Regions from separate parts of the Homo sapiens genome. Here region 2 is linked to region 1. Evidence: promoter capture Hi-C in 16 types of primary human blood cells and fetal thymus (Javierre and others, 2016). All regions are on one chromosome and are shown on one strand. Each heading gives the region's core, a stretch centred on a gene start or on the middle of the fragment in contact. The rest is flanking DNA. Distances are from core to core; before and after follow the strand shown. Region 1 holds the start of GK (glycerol kinase). Region 2 has its middle 13 kb from the start of TASL.

Region 1 (6,398 bases), core at 3,705-6,204:
GCCACTGCACTCCAGCTTGGGTAACACAGTGAGACTCCGTCTCAGAAAAAAAAAAAACAAAAAGAATCACAACTCTACTTATCACAAGAGTGGCCTCATTCCAACTGTGAGCCAAATCAGTTTTACCAAAATTTATTGTTCATTAGTCCCTGGCCCATAATGGGTGCTTAATAAATGTGTTGAATACATAAATGAAGGAAAGAGGAAATCCATCTGTAAGCCTTATGAGATCTCTAAGTATGATGGGACAGCTGGGGCCAAGGGAATGCTTCCTGCCAAAACAAGCACTGAGCTACAATTCTAGTCATTCTTTATATGTATTGTCGGTTGAAACAAAATGATGATGCAACCATTATCCACAGTGACACACCTGAGCCCTGCCTAGGACCCACTGAATTTGAGTCACAAGATGATCATAACCCACAGTACTCATTCAAAGGCAATATTTTTTATAGATTGCAAAACCAATTTATAAGTATGTTTTTCTTGGTGAAGATTCATTCGTGATGATAATCAGAACTGACACTTGATTAATAGGTGAGAAGGTGGCCTCCCCCTTCTCTCATTTCCCCTTCACAGTACTCTACACAGCTGGGGAACCCAAGGCAGTAGTCAGGAGGACTGGTTTCAGAGTATAACAGACCTGGACTTGAATCCTAGCTCCACCAGTTACTCTGTGACCTTGGGCACAATCCTCAGCCACAGTCTAATCACCTGTGTAAAGAAGCTTACTAATACGATCTACATCACAGAGTTATGAGGATTAAATGAGATAATGCTGGAAAAGTCTTCAACATAGTACCTGACACATTTCAAGCCACAACACATTACAAGTCTTTTAAAAAATCATCATAGTGGGGAAAAAATTAAGTTACCAAATTAAAGAAGGAAGTTGATTGTTTAAGCTGAAACTTTTGTCTTACAAAGAAATGGCCCCTCCTTAAAACCTGTTACACTAATTCTCTTTCCAAGAAGTTCCTACTCTGCAATCTGAGTTACCATGTGCCAACCCCAATTCACTTTCCTATCAGATAAGTTGGAAATTTTCCGCTTGTACAAAGCATATGCATGGGGTCCCAAGATTAATTCTTTGACAATTTGATGAGGAAATGAACATGTTCTATTGTATGTCTACTACTAAAATGTAAGAAGAAATTAAGTAACCAAACGTACCCAAGAATGTTTTAAGAGGTAAGAAAGAAAACCAGAATTAAAATTCAGTTAACTTGGCTGGGCACGGTGGCTGACGCCTGTAATACCAGCACTTTGGGAGGCCAACGTGGGTGGATCACGACGTCAGGAGTTCGAGACCAGCCTGACCAACATGGTGAAACCCCGTCTCTACTAAAAATGTAAAAATTAGCCGGGCGTGGTGGCGCATGCCTGTAATCCCAGCTACTCAGGAGGCTGAGGCAGAAGAATCACTTGAGCCTGGGAGGCAGAGGCTGCAGTGAGCCGAGATCATGCCACTGCACTCCAGCCTGGGCTACAGAGCGAGATTCTGTCTCAAAAAAATAAAATAAAATAAAAAATAATTCAGTTAACTTATTAAAGAGAAATAAAAATCTACTCAATAAACATGTATAAAACACTCTCTGAACAGTCTTTAAGTGCTGTTCATCTTTGTATTTCATAAAACATCTTGGTCAACATGACAAATAGCTTAAAAGGAGGACCCTGCTCCCAAGTACAGCAGGTATACGATTATAATACAAGGGGGAAGGTAATAAGAGCTATTAATAGAAGTATTTTTAAAAGTGCTGTAGGAAGGGGGGGGAATTCTGAATAACGGTTTGAGGAAGACTTACACTAAAAGGTGGCAGTTGAGCCACTATTTAGAGGTAGAGAAGCGGATATGTGGGATAGAGGTGGAGGCATTTCCCTGGGATGAAAGAGCACAGATAAAGCCTTTTCTCCTTATGGGAGAAAGCTAATATTGCTAACAGAGAAAAAAGAAGAAGAAAGCTTGCAGAGATTATTGGTCTCAGGAAAGTCAAGTTAAATATGCAAATTTAATGAATAATAGGAAATTACTTAAATATCTTTAATTTTATAAGCTTCCTTATGACAGTTCTTATCCACTGTATTCTTTCCTGAGAGGTAAGCAATTATTTTTCAGTCATAATTACAACGTGGAGTAATATGACTGGAATAACTCCCGGGAATCATCTTGTGATTGAAGCACTTATTCAGCAAATCTTTTATCTGCATTTTGCAGGGAGTGGTTTAGCAATCTCTCTCCTTATAAACAAAGGAAAAAACACCTTGCTAAACCATTCCTAAGTTTTTCACTACTTCACACAGGATCTCTACGGTTTTTTTATTTGCCTCTAGAGCATGCTTTCATAGTTGTTTCTCAAGGAGAGGACAATTTTACTGATCAACTTTTATAAAATCATTCTCTAAGCAGGATAAGAATCTTCTGAATTTGCATCTTAGCTTACATGCAATGAGACGAGGCCTCACAGAACCCAGTAAACAGGAGCCAATTTTTGAAGGCTCATGTTGTTCATGTTACAGACTGAACAATTAATTGTGGTAATATGAAGTTGATCAAGTTCTTCTTCATTGATGTAGAAAGATGTCTTTTAGGCAACAAAACCTGAGGGACCAAGAACAACCTGTAGTGAATAAAGAAGATTGCTGGGCTACATGGACAGCAATAATGAACAGTCAAAAAGAAGGCATGGACAGTTCAAGCTGACTCCTAAAGGAAGCCTACAAAGTTATGAAATATTTTACCCATTTTCATATTGAGCAAAGGCTGTATAAACTTGAGAACATCTGCCATGCTTGGTTTGGCCCCCACAGTGCTTTATAAACTAATTGCCAACATTTAAGAATTGAAAGATTTCATTGAAAACTCTAGACTACCTGCTTTTAATCTGACGATCTGGCAGCACTGGGCTTGTGTTCCTGCTTGGCAGCTACTAGCTGTCCCCTTGACCTGGATATCTCTCTAGTCTGCCTTCCCCCTTCTACCTGCCTGGTCCCTGCAGGCATTTGTGTGGGCAATTCTTGAATATGGCTTTAAACATCAACCCACAGTTAGTTGGCACATGTCTTAATGGTCTTTCTTAAGTTGGGAAGATGATGATCGTGTATATTATGTATTAATCAAATCCAGTTAAGCAAACTTTCTTATGATTCAGGATTACTCTATAAACATTTCTATGAATATAAGACAAAGTGAAACCTGCCCTGGGTGATCAAAAGATAAACAGTGCAAGAGACAGTGGAACTATGCTTGGCAGCTCAAACCAGGGTAAGTCATTAAATAAGATTCAAACCAAAATTAGACTGAAAGCTTCTCACTTTAGACAAAAAAAGATATGTCAGGATCAAAGCACAAATGCAGTTTTTAGTCAAGTGCCAGCTCTGACAGAACTTTGAAAAAATATATACATTGTATGTATAATGCCTATGTATAAATATACACATATGTGTATATATGTACAGATATATACATACTAAATAACACAGGAAAACATGATTTGCGGTAAAGTGAAGAGCTAAATAATCATTAAATATTTACATCAACTTGCCAAGTTAGTCAAATATCCATTGAAAGCATGGGCTTTTATCAGCAGGCATTCATTTCAATTACTTTTATTTATTTTTTATTTATTTTTATTTTTTTGAGACAGAGTCTCGCTCTGTTGGCTAGGCTGGATTGCCCAGGCTGGAGTGCAGTGGTGTGATCTCTGCTCACTGCAACCTCCGCCTCCCGGGTCCAAGTGATTCTCCTGCCTCAGCCTCCCGGGTAAGTAGGATTACAGGCGCCCGCCACCACGCCCAGCTAATTTTTGTTATGCCAGGTTGGCCAGGCTGGTCTCGAACTCCTGACCTTAGGTAATCCACCCGCCTCAGCCTCCCAAACTGTTGGGATTACACGTGTAAGCCACCGCGCCCGGCCTCAATTACTTTTAAATTATCTTACTGAACTCTGTGCTAGGTCACTTTAAGAGCAAGTTTACTAATTGCACAAAAATTAATCAGCAGTCACTTAAATAGCAATCTTTTGTGGTAAAACTGTGCTGTCACACATGGTAAATAAAAAGAGAAACAGAATTTCCGTGTCGCATTATGCTGTGAAGCACAGTAAGGACAATCATTTGTTTGTAATGGGCAAAGTCTCAGAACTGAAATTTGCGAGTCTTCGGAATTAAATAAAGATTATGGCAAAACCAGTGTAGTGTGACTGTTTCCTAATTTGTTCTGCCACCCTCCCCAGTATTCAACCCTCTGCAATTTTTATGGGAGAGGATGACAACGCATCATCACTCCAATACTTTATTCGTTCTACTGCTGGAAAGGACGCTGTGTTAGCTACCACAGCCGTGACACAGCTTTCCCCCCATCCAAGGACGTCCTGTGTCTCGCAGGCCAAATGTTCCTGGGGAAGACCGCGGTAGCCGTCAATGTGGCCACCTGTCCCCTACTGCAAGCGGGCCGCTCTGCGCGGATGCTCGGAGAGTCCCTGCTCCCTTTGGGGGAAGAGTCACCCCATTAGTAGGTGACCCAGCTCCGCCACCAAAACTGCGACTGTTCAACTCGGCCATGGGGGTCATGAGAGGCCGAGGTCCCCCAGGCCTGGCTGGGGCATCCCCAGTGTGGCAGGTCCCGTTCCGGCCTCCCTCCTTGCCCAGCGGCCGGGGCACCGGGCCGGAGAGATGCGGGATGGGGACACAACAGCCACCCCCTCCGTCCCCCGACTCCCGCCCCGGCTCAGCGCCTCTTCACATGTCACCCCGGGCTCACCAAAAAGCGCGTCGAACTGGTGCCCTGGTCCACCGCCCCCACCAATGGCCCCAAAACTGCCTTCTTTGAGGCTGCCATGAAACCAGCTTCAGGTCGGCCGGCGATTGCGGCCGGTTTCCTGGGTGACGGCGGCGGGAGGGGGAGGGGCAGGTGACGAGTCCAGAGATCGAGGCCGCGCGCGTCCGCTGAACGCTCGGACCGCGCTCGAGGCGGCCCCTTTACCCGCGCGCAGCCTTCTCACCCCGCCCCTCCGGCCCAGGCCCCGCCCCCCACCGCGTACCCCCAAGGCTCCAGGGGCGTGTCAGGGGGGGTGGGGGTGGGCGCTGTCACCTGGGCTGGCCAATCAGCAAACGCAAAAGAGCCGAACGCTCGGACAGGCAGAGGGCGATGAGACGTCACGGGGGCGGGGCCTGGGCGCGGTGGAGGCGGCGGCCCGCGCAGTAGGTCACGTGGGGGCCCGGCGAGCGGACAGCAGAGCCATCCAGCTGCATGGCATGGGGCGGAGACGAGTACTGCCCTTTGGCAGGCAGCGCTCCTGGCCGGCGAAAAGAGCGCACTTCCACTAGTGTCCTGGGGCTCGCCTCCATAGGGGTCTCAAAGTGTGTAGAACTGCTTGTTCCCTCCAGTGGGCTGTGCAGAGTCGTGCAGCGACGTGAGTCGCTGTGTGGACCTACCCGGCCCGGCCTTCCCGCGTTTCCCACGCCCCGCCCACCTCCCTGCATCTGGCCCCTGGTAATCGTAATCATTCCTTTGGCTGGGATTGACCCCATATAGGGTCACCTCAAGGAGCAACGCGAATCCTTCACCGTTGCAAGCTTTTCAGGGACAAGAAACGCGGAAGTTCTTTCGGTTTAGCATTTAAGGAAAGCACCCAAAATCAACCTCCCCAAGTTCCTCTATCGACCATTCAGGCAGAAGGCGCCCGGCACCACTCCGTCCTGACGCGCCCTTGCTCCTCGTTTGGCCTCACTCTGCGGTCCCCTCCCCCACACGCCATTTCCTCTCCCTCCATTAACTGCTTTGGATGGCAGGGGACAGAAAAGGGACTCTCCCTTGACCTTGAATTTACCTTGCCCGGATCCTTCTGGATCCTGTGTTCTAAGGGCTTTCAAACTTGGAACCAAGACCCACACTGTGAAACAGTTTACAAAACAAACCCAGGCTCCAGTGTGTGTGGGCGGGGAGCACATTTGTAGTTACAATTGTTACACATGTAAATACATGTTATATACATCTAATATACATTTATGTATGTATAGAAAAACTTTCCAAAACAATATTTGTCCTTCCACAGTATGCATTCTGTATTTTTATTCTATGGCATATCATTTTTTTTTAATGCTGATTGAAAATCACTAAATTGCTTTTGTAACCCACCATGCTCTCTATCAATTTTAAAAGCACTCCGCTATACCCACTGTCATTTCTTTCCATCCCTTTCCCAAATCTCTGTGTTCTGGAACATCATTTCTTTTCCTTTTTTTTTTTTTTCCTTTCTTACCTTGCTCTACACCACGTCACTTGTCCATCTCTGTTTGTATAGTTTTACCACACATGATCTGAAAGCAAATTTTCCTAAACACCGTCTAGACCTCACATTCTAATGTTCCAGATGAAGCCTGCTTATGGACATACTA
Region 2 (6,404 bases), core at 901-3,400, 62 kb after region 1:
TGGGGCTGAGGCAGGATGATCGCTTAAGCCCAGGAGGTTGAGGCTGCAGTGAGCTGTGATTGCACCACTGCACTCCAGCTTGGGTGACAGAGTGAGACCCTGTTTAAAAAAAAAAAAAAAAAACAGCGAAAAAACTCCCCAGATATTACTAATGTACATCCAAAGTTAAAAACTATTGCTGTAGGGTAGTCTAATCGTAAGAATCTTCTGAGGCAGTTGTTAAATGTGGCAGTCCCAGGTCCAAATCTAATGAACCAAATCTCCAGGGGAAGGGCCTAGAAAATCTGCATATTTAATAAGCACATCAGGTGATTCTTAAAATGAGATAATTTGGGAAACATTCCACCTTTCTCTTCCCAACTTCCTCATTCTTGATGACAGGCTCATTAGTTGCTAACAAAGGCATTATTCAACTAAATTCGACCCACAGAAGTTTGGAGTATATGCCTTAAAACCTATCTTTTAATGTGAGATTTTGCTGCAGAAATGGCTTTAAAACTTAAAGTTTTGAAAGTATAAAGACACAGTAGTTAGTTGTTTGACAAGGCACTATTCTCGTGTGGAAGGTCTCTTGTCCAGGCAACTCAAATTTCACAGTTTTGTGGGGGGCACTTTATGAATTTGAGTTGGGTAAATGAATGAATTCTGCATGGGCAGCTGACTCTTCACCTTAAATGTTCAGAGGGACCTACGTCAGAGGACCAGAAAGAACCAGTTTTTCTGACTTGATCATCTTGTAATTCAGATAAAAGCTTTGTAAATACAAAAAAACATGTCCTCATGAATTGCAAGAAGGAAAATAGACCCAAGGAGAGGTTCAAATGGATTACCTTGGAGTGCAGACTAGAAAGGGGTTTATGGGAATCACTTGAGAAGTGAAACTTGCCCGAATAGAATATATCCTCAAATTCCGACTTTTTCTCTTCTGGTGAAACAGGAAGAAGGCACTGTCAGTATTAAATAGTAATTTCCTGTCTGCAACACCACAGTCATTTTTTTTTTCCTGATCAGAGAAGTCCCTGAACTACGAGCCTTTTGGAGGTAGAAATCAAACCTTAGTGGTTTTTATGTATAAAATGCCTAATACCTGGCCCTTAATAAATGCTCAATAAGTAGTTTCTGAATTGAATAAAGTAGTGATCAAGTCTAGATCTCGATGTTAAAAAGGTACAAAAATTCTATAATTCTACATGGAGCATTTCTTTTTTTTTCTTTTGAGACGGATTCTCACTTTGTTGCCCAGGCTGGAGTACTGTGGTGTGATCTTGGCTCACTGCAACCTCCGCCTCCCAGGTTCAAAAGCAATTCTCCTGTCTCAGCTTCTCCAGTACTGGGACTATAGGCGCACACCACCACGCCCGGTTAATTTTTGTATTTTTAGTAGAGATGGGGTTTCACCATGTTGGCCAGGCTGGTCTTGAACTCCTGACCTCAGGTGATCCACCCGCCTCGGCCTCCCAAAGTGCTGGGATGACAGGCGTGAGTCACCGAGCCTGGCCTATATGGAACATTTCTTTAAGGTAACTTGTGTTCAACAAGGCTCACATTGAAAATTGTAAAAATTGTAAGAAAAACTTAGTTCTTCCAGAAAAGATACACATAAAATTGAAAACAATGTTTTCCTTTGGAAAGTGGAAATAAGGGAGTTAGGGGAGAAGACTTTTTTCTTTATAGCTCTGTACCATTATATATATTTTAAACCACGAGCAGGTAATTTATATAAATTATTTTTAAATGACAAGTTCAAAATTTGAATTGCATAATCATTTAAGCGGAGATGTTGAAGGGACTTTGGAAATCCCTCTCCCTTCCCCAGCCCCAACTCACAGAAAAGTTCCAACGGCCTCCTCACTGTTACCTACATGTGGCAGTTGTTAGAATGCCCACAGTTGTCCACTTCTTCCATCAAGAGGTAGATTAATGAGAGTTAATCCAAAGTAATTGTACAGAAATATATTAATTTTATCCTTTCCTATCCTATTACTATTTAATTAACTCAGTAATCTATACTTCTTTGATACTTGCACAATACCTTTAAAAACTGTAATTTATCTTTTTACATATTTGTCTGATTTCTGCCATTGTACTGTTGATTCTGAATGGTAGGAAGTTTTTCTCATCTCTGTCTCAAAACGCTGTGTACTAGATGTTGTATATAATACATAGAGAATAGTCCTCTGGCTTTGGAGTCAGAAAAGCCTGGGTCCAAATTCCTGGCCCTGACTTCCTGTGTGACTTTGGACAAAGTAATTAGCCTCTCTGAAATCCAAACTTTTCTTATTTTAAAAAATAATCAAACATGCTCTATAGGATTATTTTGAGGATTAAATGACATAAATCAAACCTTTTAGTCTATAATGCACGTATAGTAGGCATTCTGCAAATAAGAGCTTTTGCTATATAAAGGCTTAAGATGCAGAACGTAGGTGCCTTGAAACCTTGTTACTCAAAGTGTAGTCCTCCACAGATGAGCACCATTGCCATCCCATGGGAGATTGTTAGAAATATAGAATGTCAGGGCACACCCCAGATCTACTGAATCTGGATTTAAACAGGATTCCCAGGTGATTCATATGCGTGTCAAAGTTTGAGAAGCATTGTCTTAAAAGACCATTCTTATTGTATATGTTTAAAGTGTACAGCATAATGTTTTAATATATTGATCTTAATATACATATACATAGTGATTACTGTAGTCAAGCAAATTAACATACCTAGCATCTCATAGTTACCTTTTTCCTTTTCTTTTTTTGTGGTAAGAGTACTTAAAGTCTAAGAGATTTTAAAGTAAAGCCAAGAGATTTGTAAATCAATTTGATATGAATCTGTACAATTAAGCACTTACATCTACTGGATTAGATTCTCATTAGATTAGATTCTTATCTCATTGTTTGATGGGAATTTCTGATAATGAGCCCCCAACAGAAAGTTTGCATTGTCATATGCTTCGTAGTAATCCCTTCAAGAGACTTGATAGAAAGGATTTATTTTTGCTCTAAATTTTGAAACTAATTAGTTGACTTCTACTAAATGTGAATGTAGAGGGATTCATTAATTTAAAATTTATCTTGAAAGATGTTTTTCATTAGCCTCAAGCATTGTTCTTCTCACCTCCAGGAGTTACAGAGCAAGGGAAAGAATTACAAAGAATAGGAATTGCTTTATTGTTATAAATGTGTGCCTGTAAATAGACAGAAGTTGCTTAAACAAAACTAGCTCTTCGATCTATAATCTGATATATACATTTGCTTGAATTTTACTCATAGAGGGACAGGACCCAAAGAGGGGTTTGATGTGGTCAGTTGGAGACAGAGATGAAAAATTTCTACCCCAGAAGCCTCTCCATAGAGAGGAAATCTGGAGTCTTAAGGGCTCAACGGCACTAATTTCACTTCTCCATTGCTTTGTGAAATAACGTTACTTGGACTGAAGTTCCAGTTTCTCCTCCATAGGACTCATGTGTCCCTGACTGTCTTTATTAACATGAGCCAGTGCTATGGCATGATAAAAATAGAATCAAGGGGGGAAATAAAAACTAAGAAGCTTTCCAAAGAGAATGTAAATTGTAAAAAATTTGGAACTTTCTCTGGGGTGTATAAATCCCACCACTTGGCTTTGGAGTGTCTCGTCCCTTTTCCTTAAAAAATATGCCAAAATTGCACAATCTCGTGGGATTAGAGGACACCAAGATTATGCAGGTTTAATTTTTCTAGGCTCTTTTACCTCTGAATATAAGTCTGAGAACTGTTCAACTGGCTCTCACAAAGGAACCTCTGAACTTCTAACAACTATTTGATGACAGAAACTAAACTTTTCATAAAAGCTTGTATAAAGAGCAATATTTAAACTGCTTGGAAGCTTTGCTCTCGAGAGCCACTGTCCTAAAACAGTCAAGTTGGAAGAGAGAGATGGTTTGGGGAGCCCACTATCATCTTTAGAGTTGAAGGTTTACCAAGCTCATTCTTTCTGTTATAGTTCAAATTATCTAAACATGCAGAGAAAAGGATGCTAAGGAAAACAGAATCCATATCTTACCTCAAAATACAGTGTTAACCTATTAGTTTAATGTGTCTTTTTCATTTAATTTAGTTCTTTACAGAGTACCATATTTTGGATGTTTCTCCCTTCCAAATCTCATGTTGAAATTTGATCCCCAGTGTTGGAGGTGGGGGTCTAGTAGAGTTTGGGTTGTGGGGGCAGATCCCTTATGAATGACTTGGTGCTATTCCTGCAGTAATGAGTGAGTTCTCACTCTATGGGTTCTGTGACAGCTGGTTGTTAAAAAGCACCTCCCACCTCTTGCTTTCTCTCCTGCCATGTGATCTCTGCACACATCAGCTCACCTTCACCTTCTATCACGAGTAGAAGCAGCCTGAGGCTCTCACCAGACGCAGATGCCCGATCGTGAACTTTTCTAGATGTCAGAATCATGAGCCAAAAAACCTTTTTTTCTTTATAAATTACTTGGCCTCAGATATTCCTTTATAGCAAGGCAAATGGACAAAGACAGAAAATGGGTACCAAGGAGTGGGTTGTTTCTATAAAGAAATACCTGAAAATGTGGAAGCAGCTGTGAAACTAGGTAATGGAAATAAAGTCTCAGATGGAAATGAGGAACTTATTGGGAACTGGAGCAAAGGTCACCCTTGCTGCATAGCAAAGAACTTGGCTGCATTATGTCCTGTGCTCTATGGCTTTGTGGAAGGCTAAATTTAAGAATGATGACCTGGGGTATCTGGAAGAAAAAATTTCTAAGCAGCAAAGCCTTGAAGAAGTGGCATCGTTGCTTTGAACAGCTTATGATCAGATATGACAGCAAAAGAAGGATCTAAAGTTGGAATTTATAATTTAAAAAGAAGCAAAAATCAAAACTATAATGAGATATCAACTCACTCCAGTTAAAACGGTTTTTATCCAGAACCATTGGATAAAATAACAAGTGCTGGCGAGGTGTGGAGAAAACGGAACCCTCATACACTGTTGGTGGGAATGCAAATTAGTATAACTGTTACGAAGAGCAGTTTAGAGGTTCCTCATAAAACTAAAAATAGAGCTACCATATGATCCAGCAATCCCACTGCTAGATATATACCCCAAAGAAAGGGAATCAGTATATCTAAGAGATATCTATACTCCTATGTTTACTGCAGCACTGTTCACAATAGCTAAGGTTTGGAAGCAACCTGAGTGTCTGTCCATCAACAGATGAATGGATAAAGAAAATGTGGTACATACACACAATGGAGTACCGTTCAGCCATAAAAAAGAATGAGATCTTGTTATTTGCAAAAACATGGATGGAACTGGAGATCATTATATTAAGTGAAATAAGCCAGGCCGGGCGCGTGGCTCATGCTTGTAATCCCAGCACTTTGCGAGGCTGAGGCGGGCAGATCATGAAGTCAGGAGTTCGAGACTAGCCTGGCCAATATGGTGAAGCTCTGTCGCTATTAAAAAATACAAAAATTAGCCGGGAGGCGGAGGTTGCAGTGAGTAAAGATTGTGCCACTGCACTCCAGCATGGGCGACAGAGCAAGAGTCCATCTCAAAAAAAAAAAAAAAAAAAAAAAAGAAAGAAGAAAGAAAGAAAGAAAGAGAGAAAGAAAGAAGCCAAGCACAGAAAGACAAACATCACATGTTCTCACTTAGCTGTGGGAGCTAAACATTAAAATAATTGAATTCATGGACATAAAGAGTAGAAGGATGATTAACAGAGGCTGGGAAGGGTAAGAAGGTGATGTTGGGGGGAGTTGGGGGTGGTTAATGGCTACAAAAAATAGAAAGAATGGGCTGGGTATGGTGGCTCATGCCTGTAATCCCAGCACTTTGGGAGGCTGAGGTTGGCAGATCACCTGAGGTCAGGAGTTTAAGACCAGCCTCGCCAACATGGTGAAACCCCGTCTCTACTAAAAAATACAAAAATTAGCCAGGTGTGGTGGCTGGCACCTGTAATCCCAGCTACTCAGGAGGCTGAGGCAGGGAGAACTGCTTGAACCCAGGAGTCAGAGTTTACAGTGAGTTAGAGTGCCCACTACACCCTAGCCTGGGCAACGGAGCGAGACTCCGTCTCAAAAATAAATAAATAAATAAAAAGAATGAATAAGATCTAGTGTTTGCTAGTACAACAGGGTGACTATCGTGAATAATAATTTAATTGTGCATTTAAAAATAACTAAAAGAGTATAATTAGATTGTTTGTAACACAAAGGATAAACGTTTGAGGGAATGAACATCCCATTTACTCTGATGTGATTACACATTGTATTATTATCTATATCAAATTATCTCTTGCACCCCATAAATATATAGCCTACTAACTACCCACAAAAATTAAAAATTAAAGACAATAACAATACAAAATATTTCCTTAAAGTAAAAAAAAAAAGAAGCCGAACATCAAAATT

The links. Contacts are between HindIII fragments. The CHiCAGO score rates a contact against its expected background, and 5 or more counts as called.
Region 2: a fragment that was not itself captured here is called in contact with the fragment with the promoter of GK in region 1 in 4 of 17 cell types (total B cells, M0 macrophages, M1 macrophages and 1 more); the score reaches 9.9 in total B cells.

The regions. Positions count from the first base shown.
Region 1 is chrX:30,651,979-30,658,376 of GRCh38, reverse strand. It overlaps GK (glycerol kinase), which reads right to left and starts at 4,954. Exons shown (of 21, transcript NM_001205019.2): 1 at 4,762-4,954. The coding sequence starts at 4,839. RefSeq lists a silencer at 4,865-5,284. The HindIII fragment of the contact is 2,269 bases long and covers 3,310-5,578 here.
Region 2 is chrX:30,587,575-30,593,978 of GRCh38, reverse strand. No RefSeq gene overlaps it. Among named protein-coding and RNA genes, the nearest start is that of TASL, 13 kb to the right of the region's middle. RefSeq lists a silencer at 23-132. The HindIII fragment of the contact is 2,791 bases long and covers 755-3,545 here.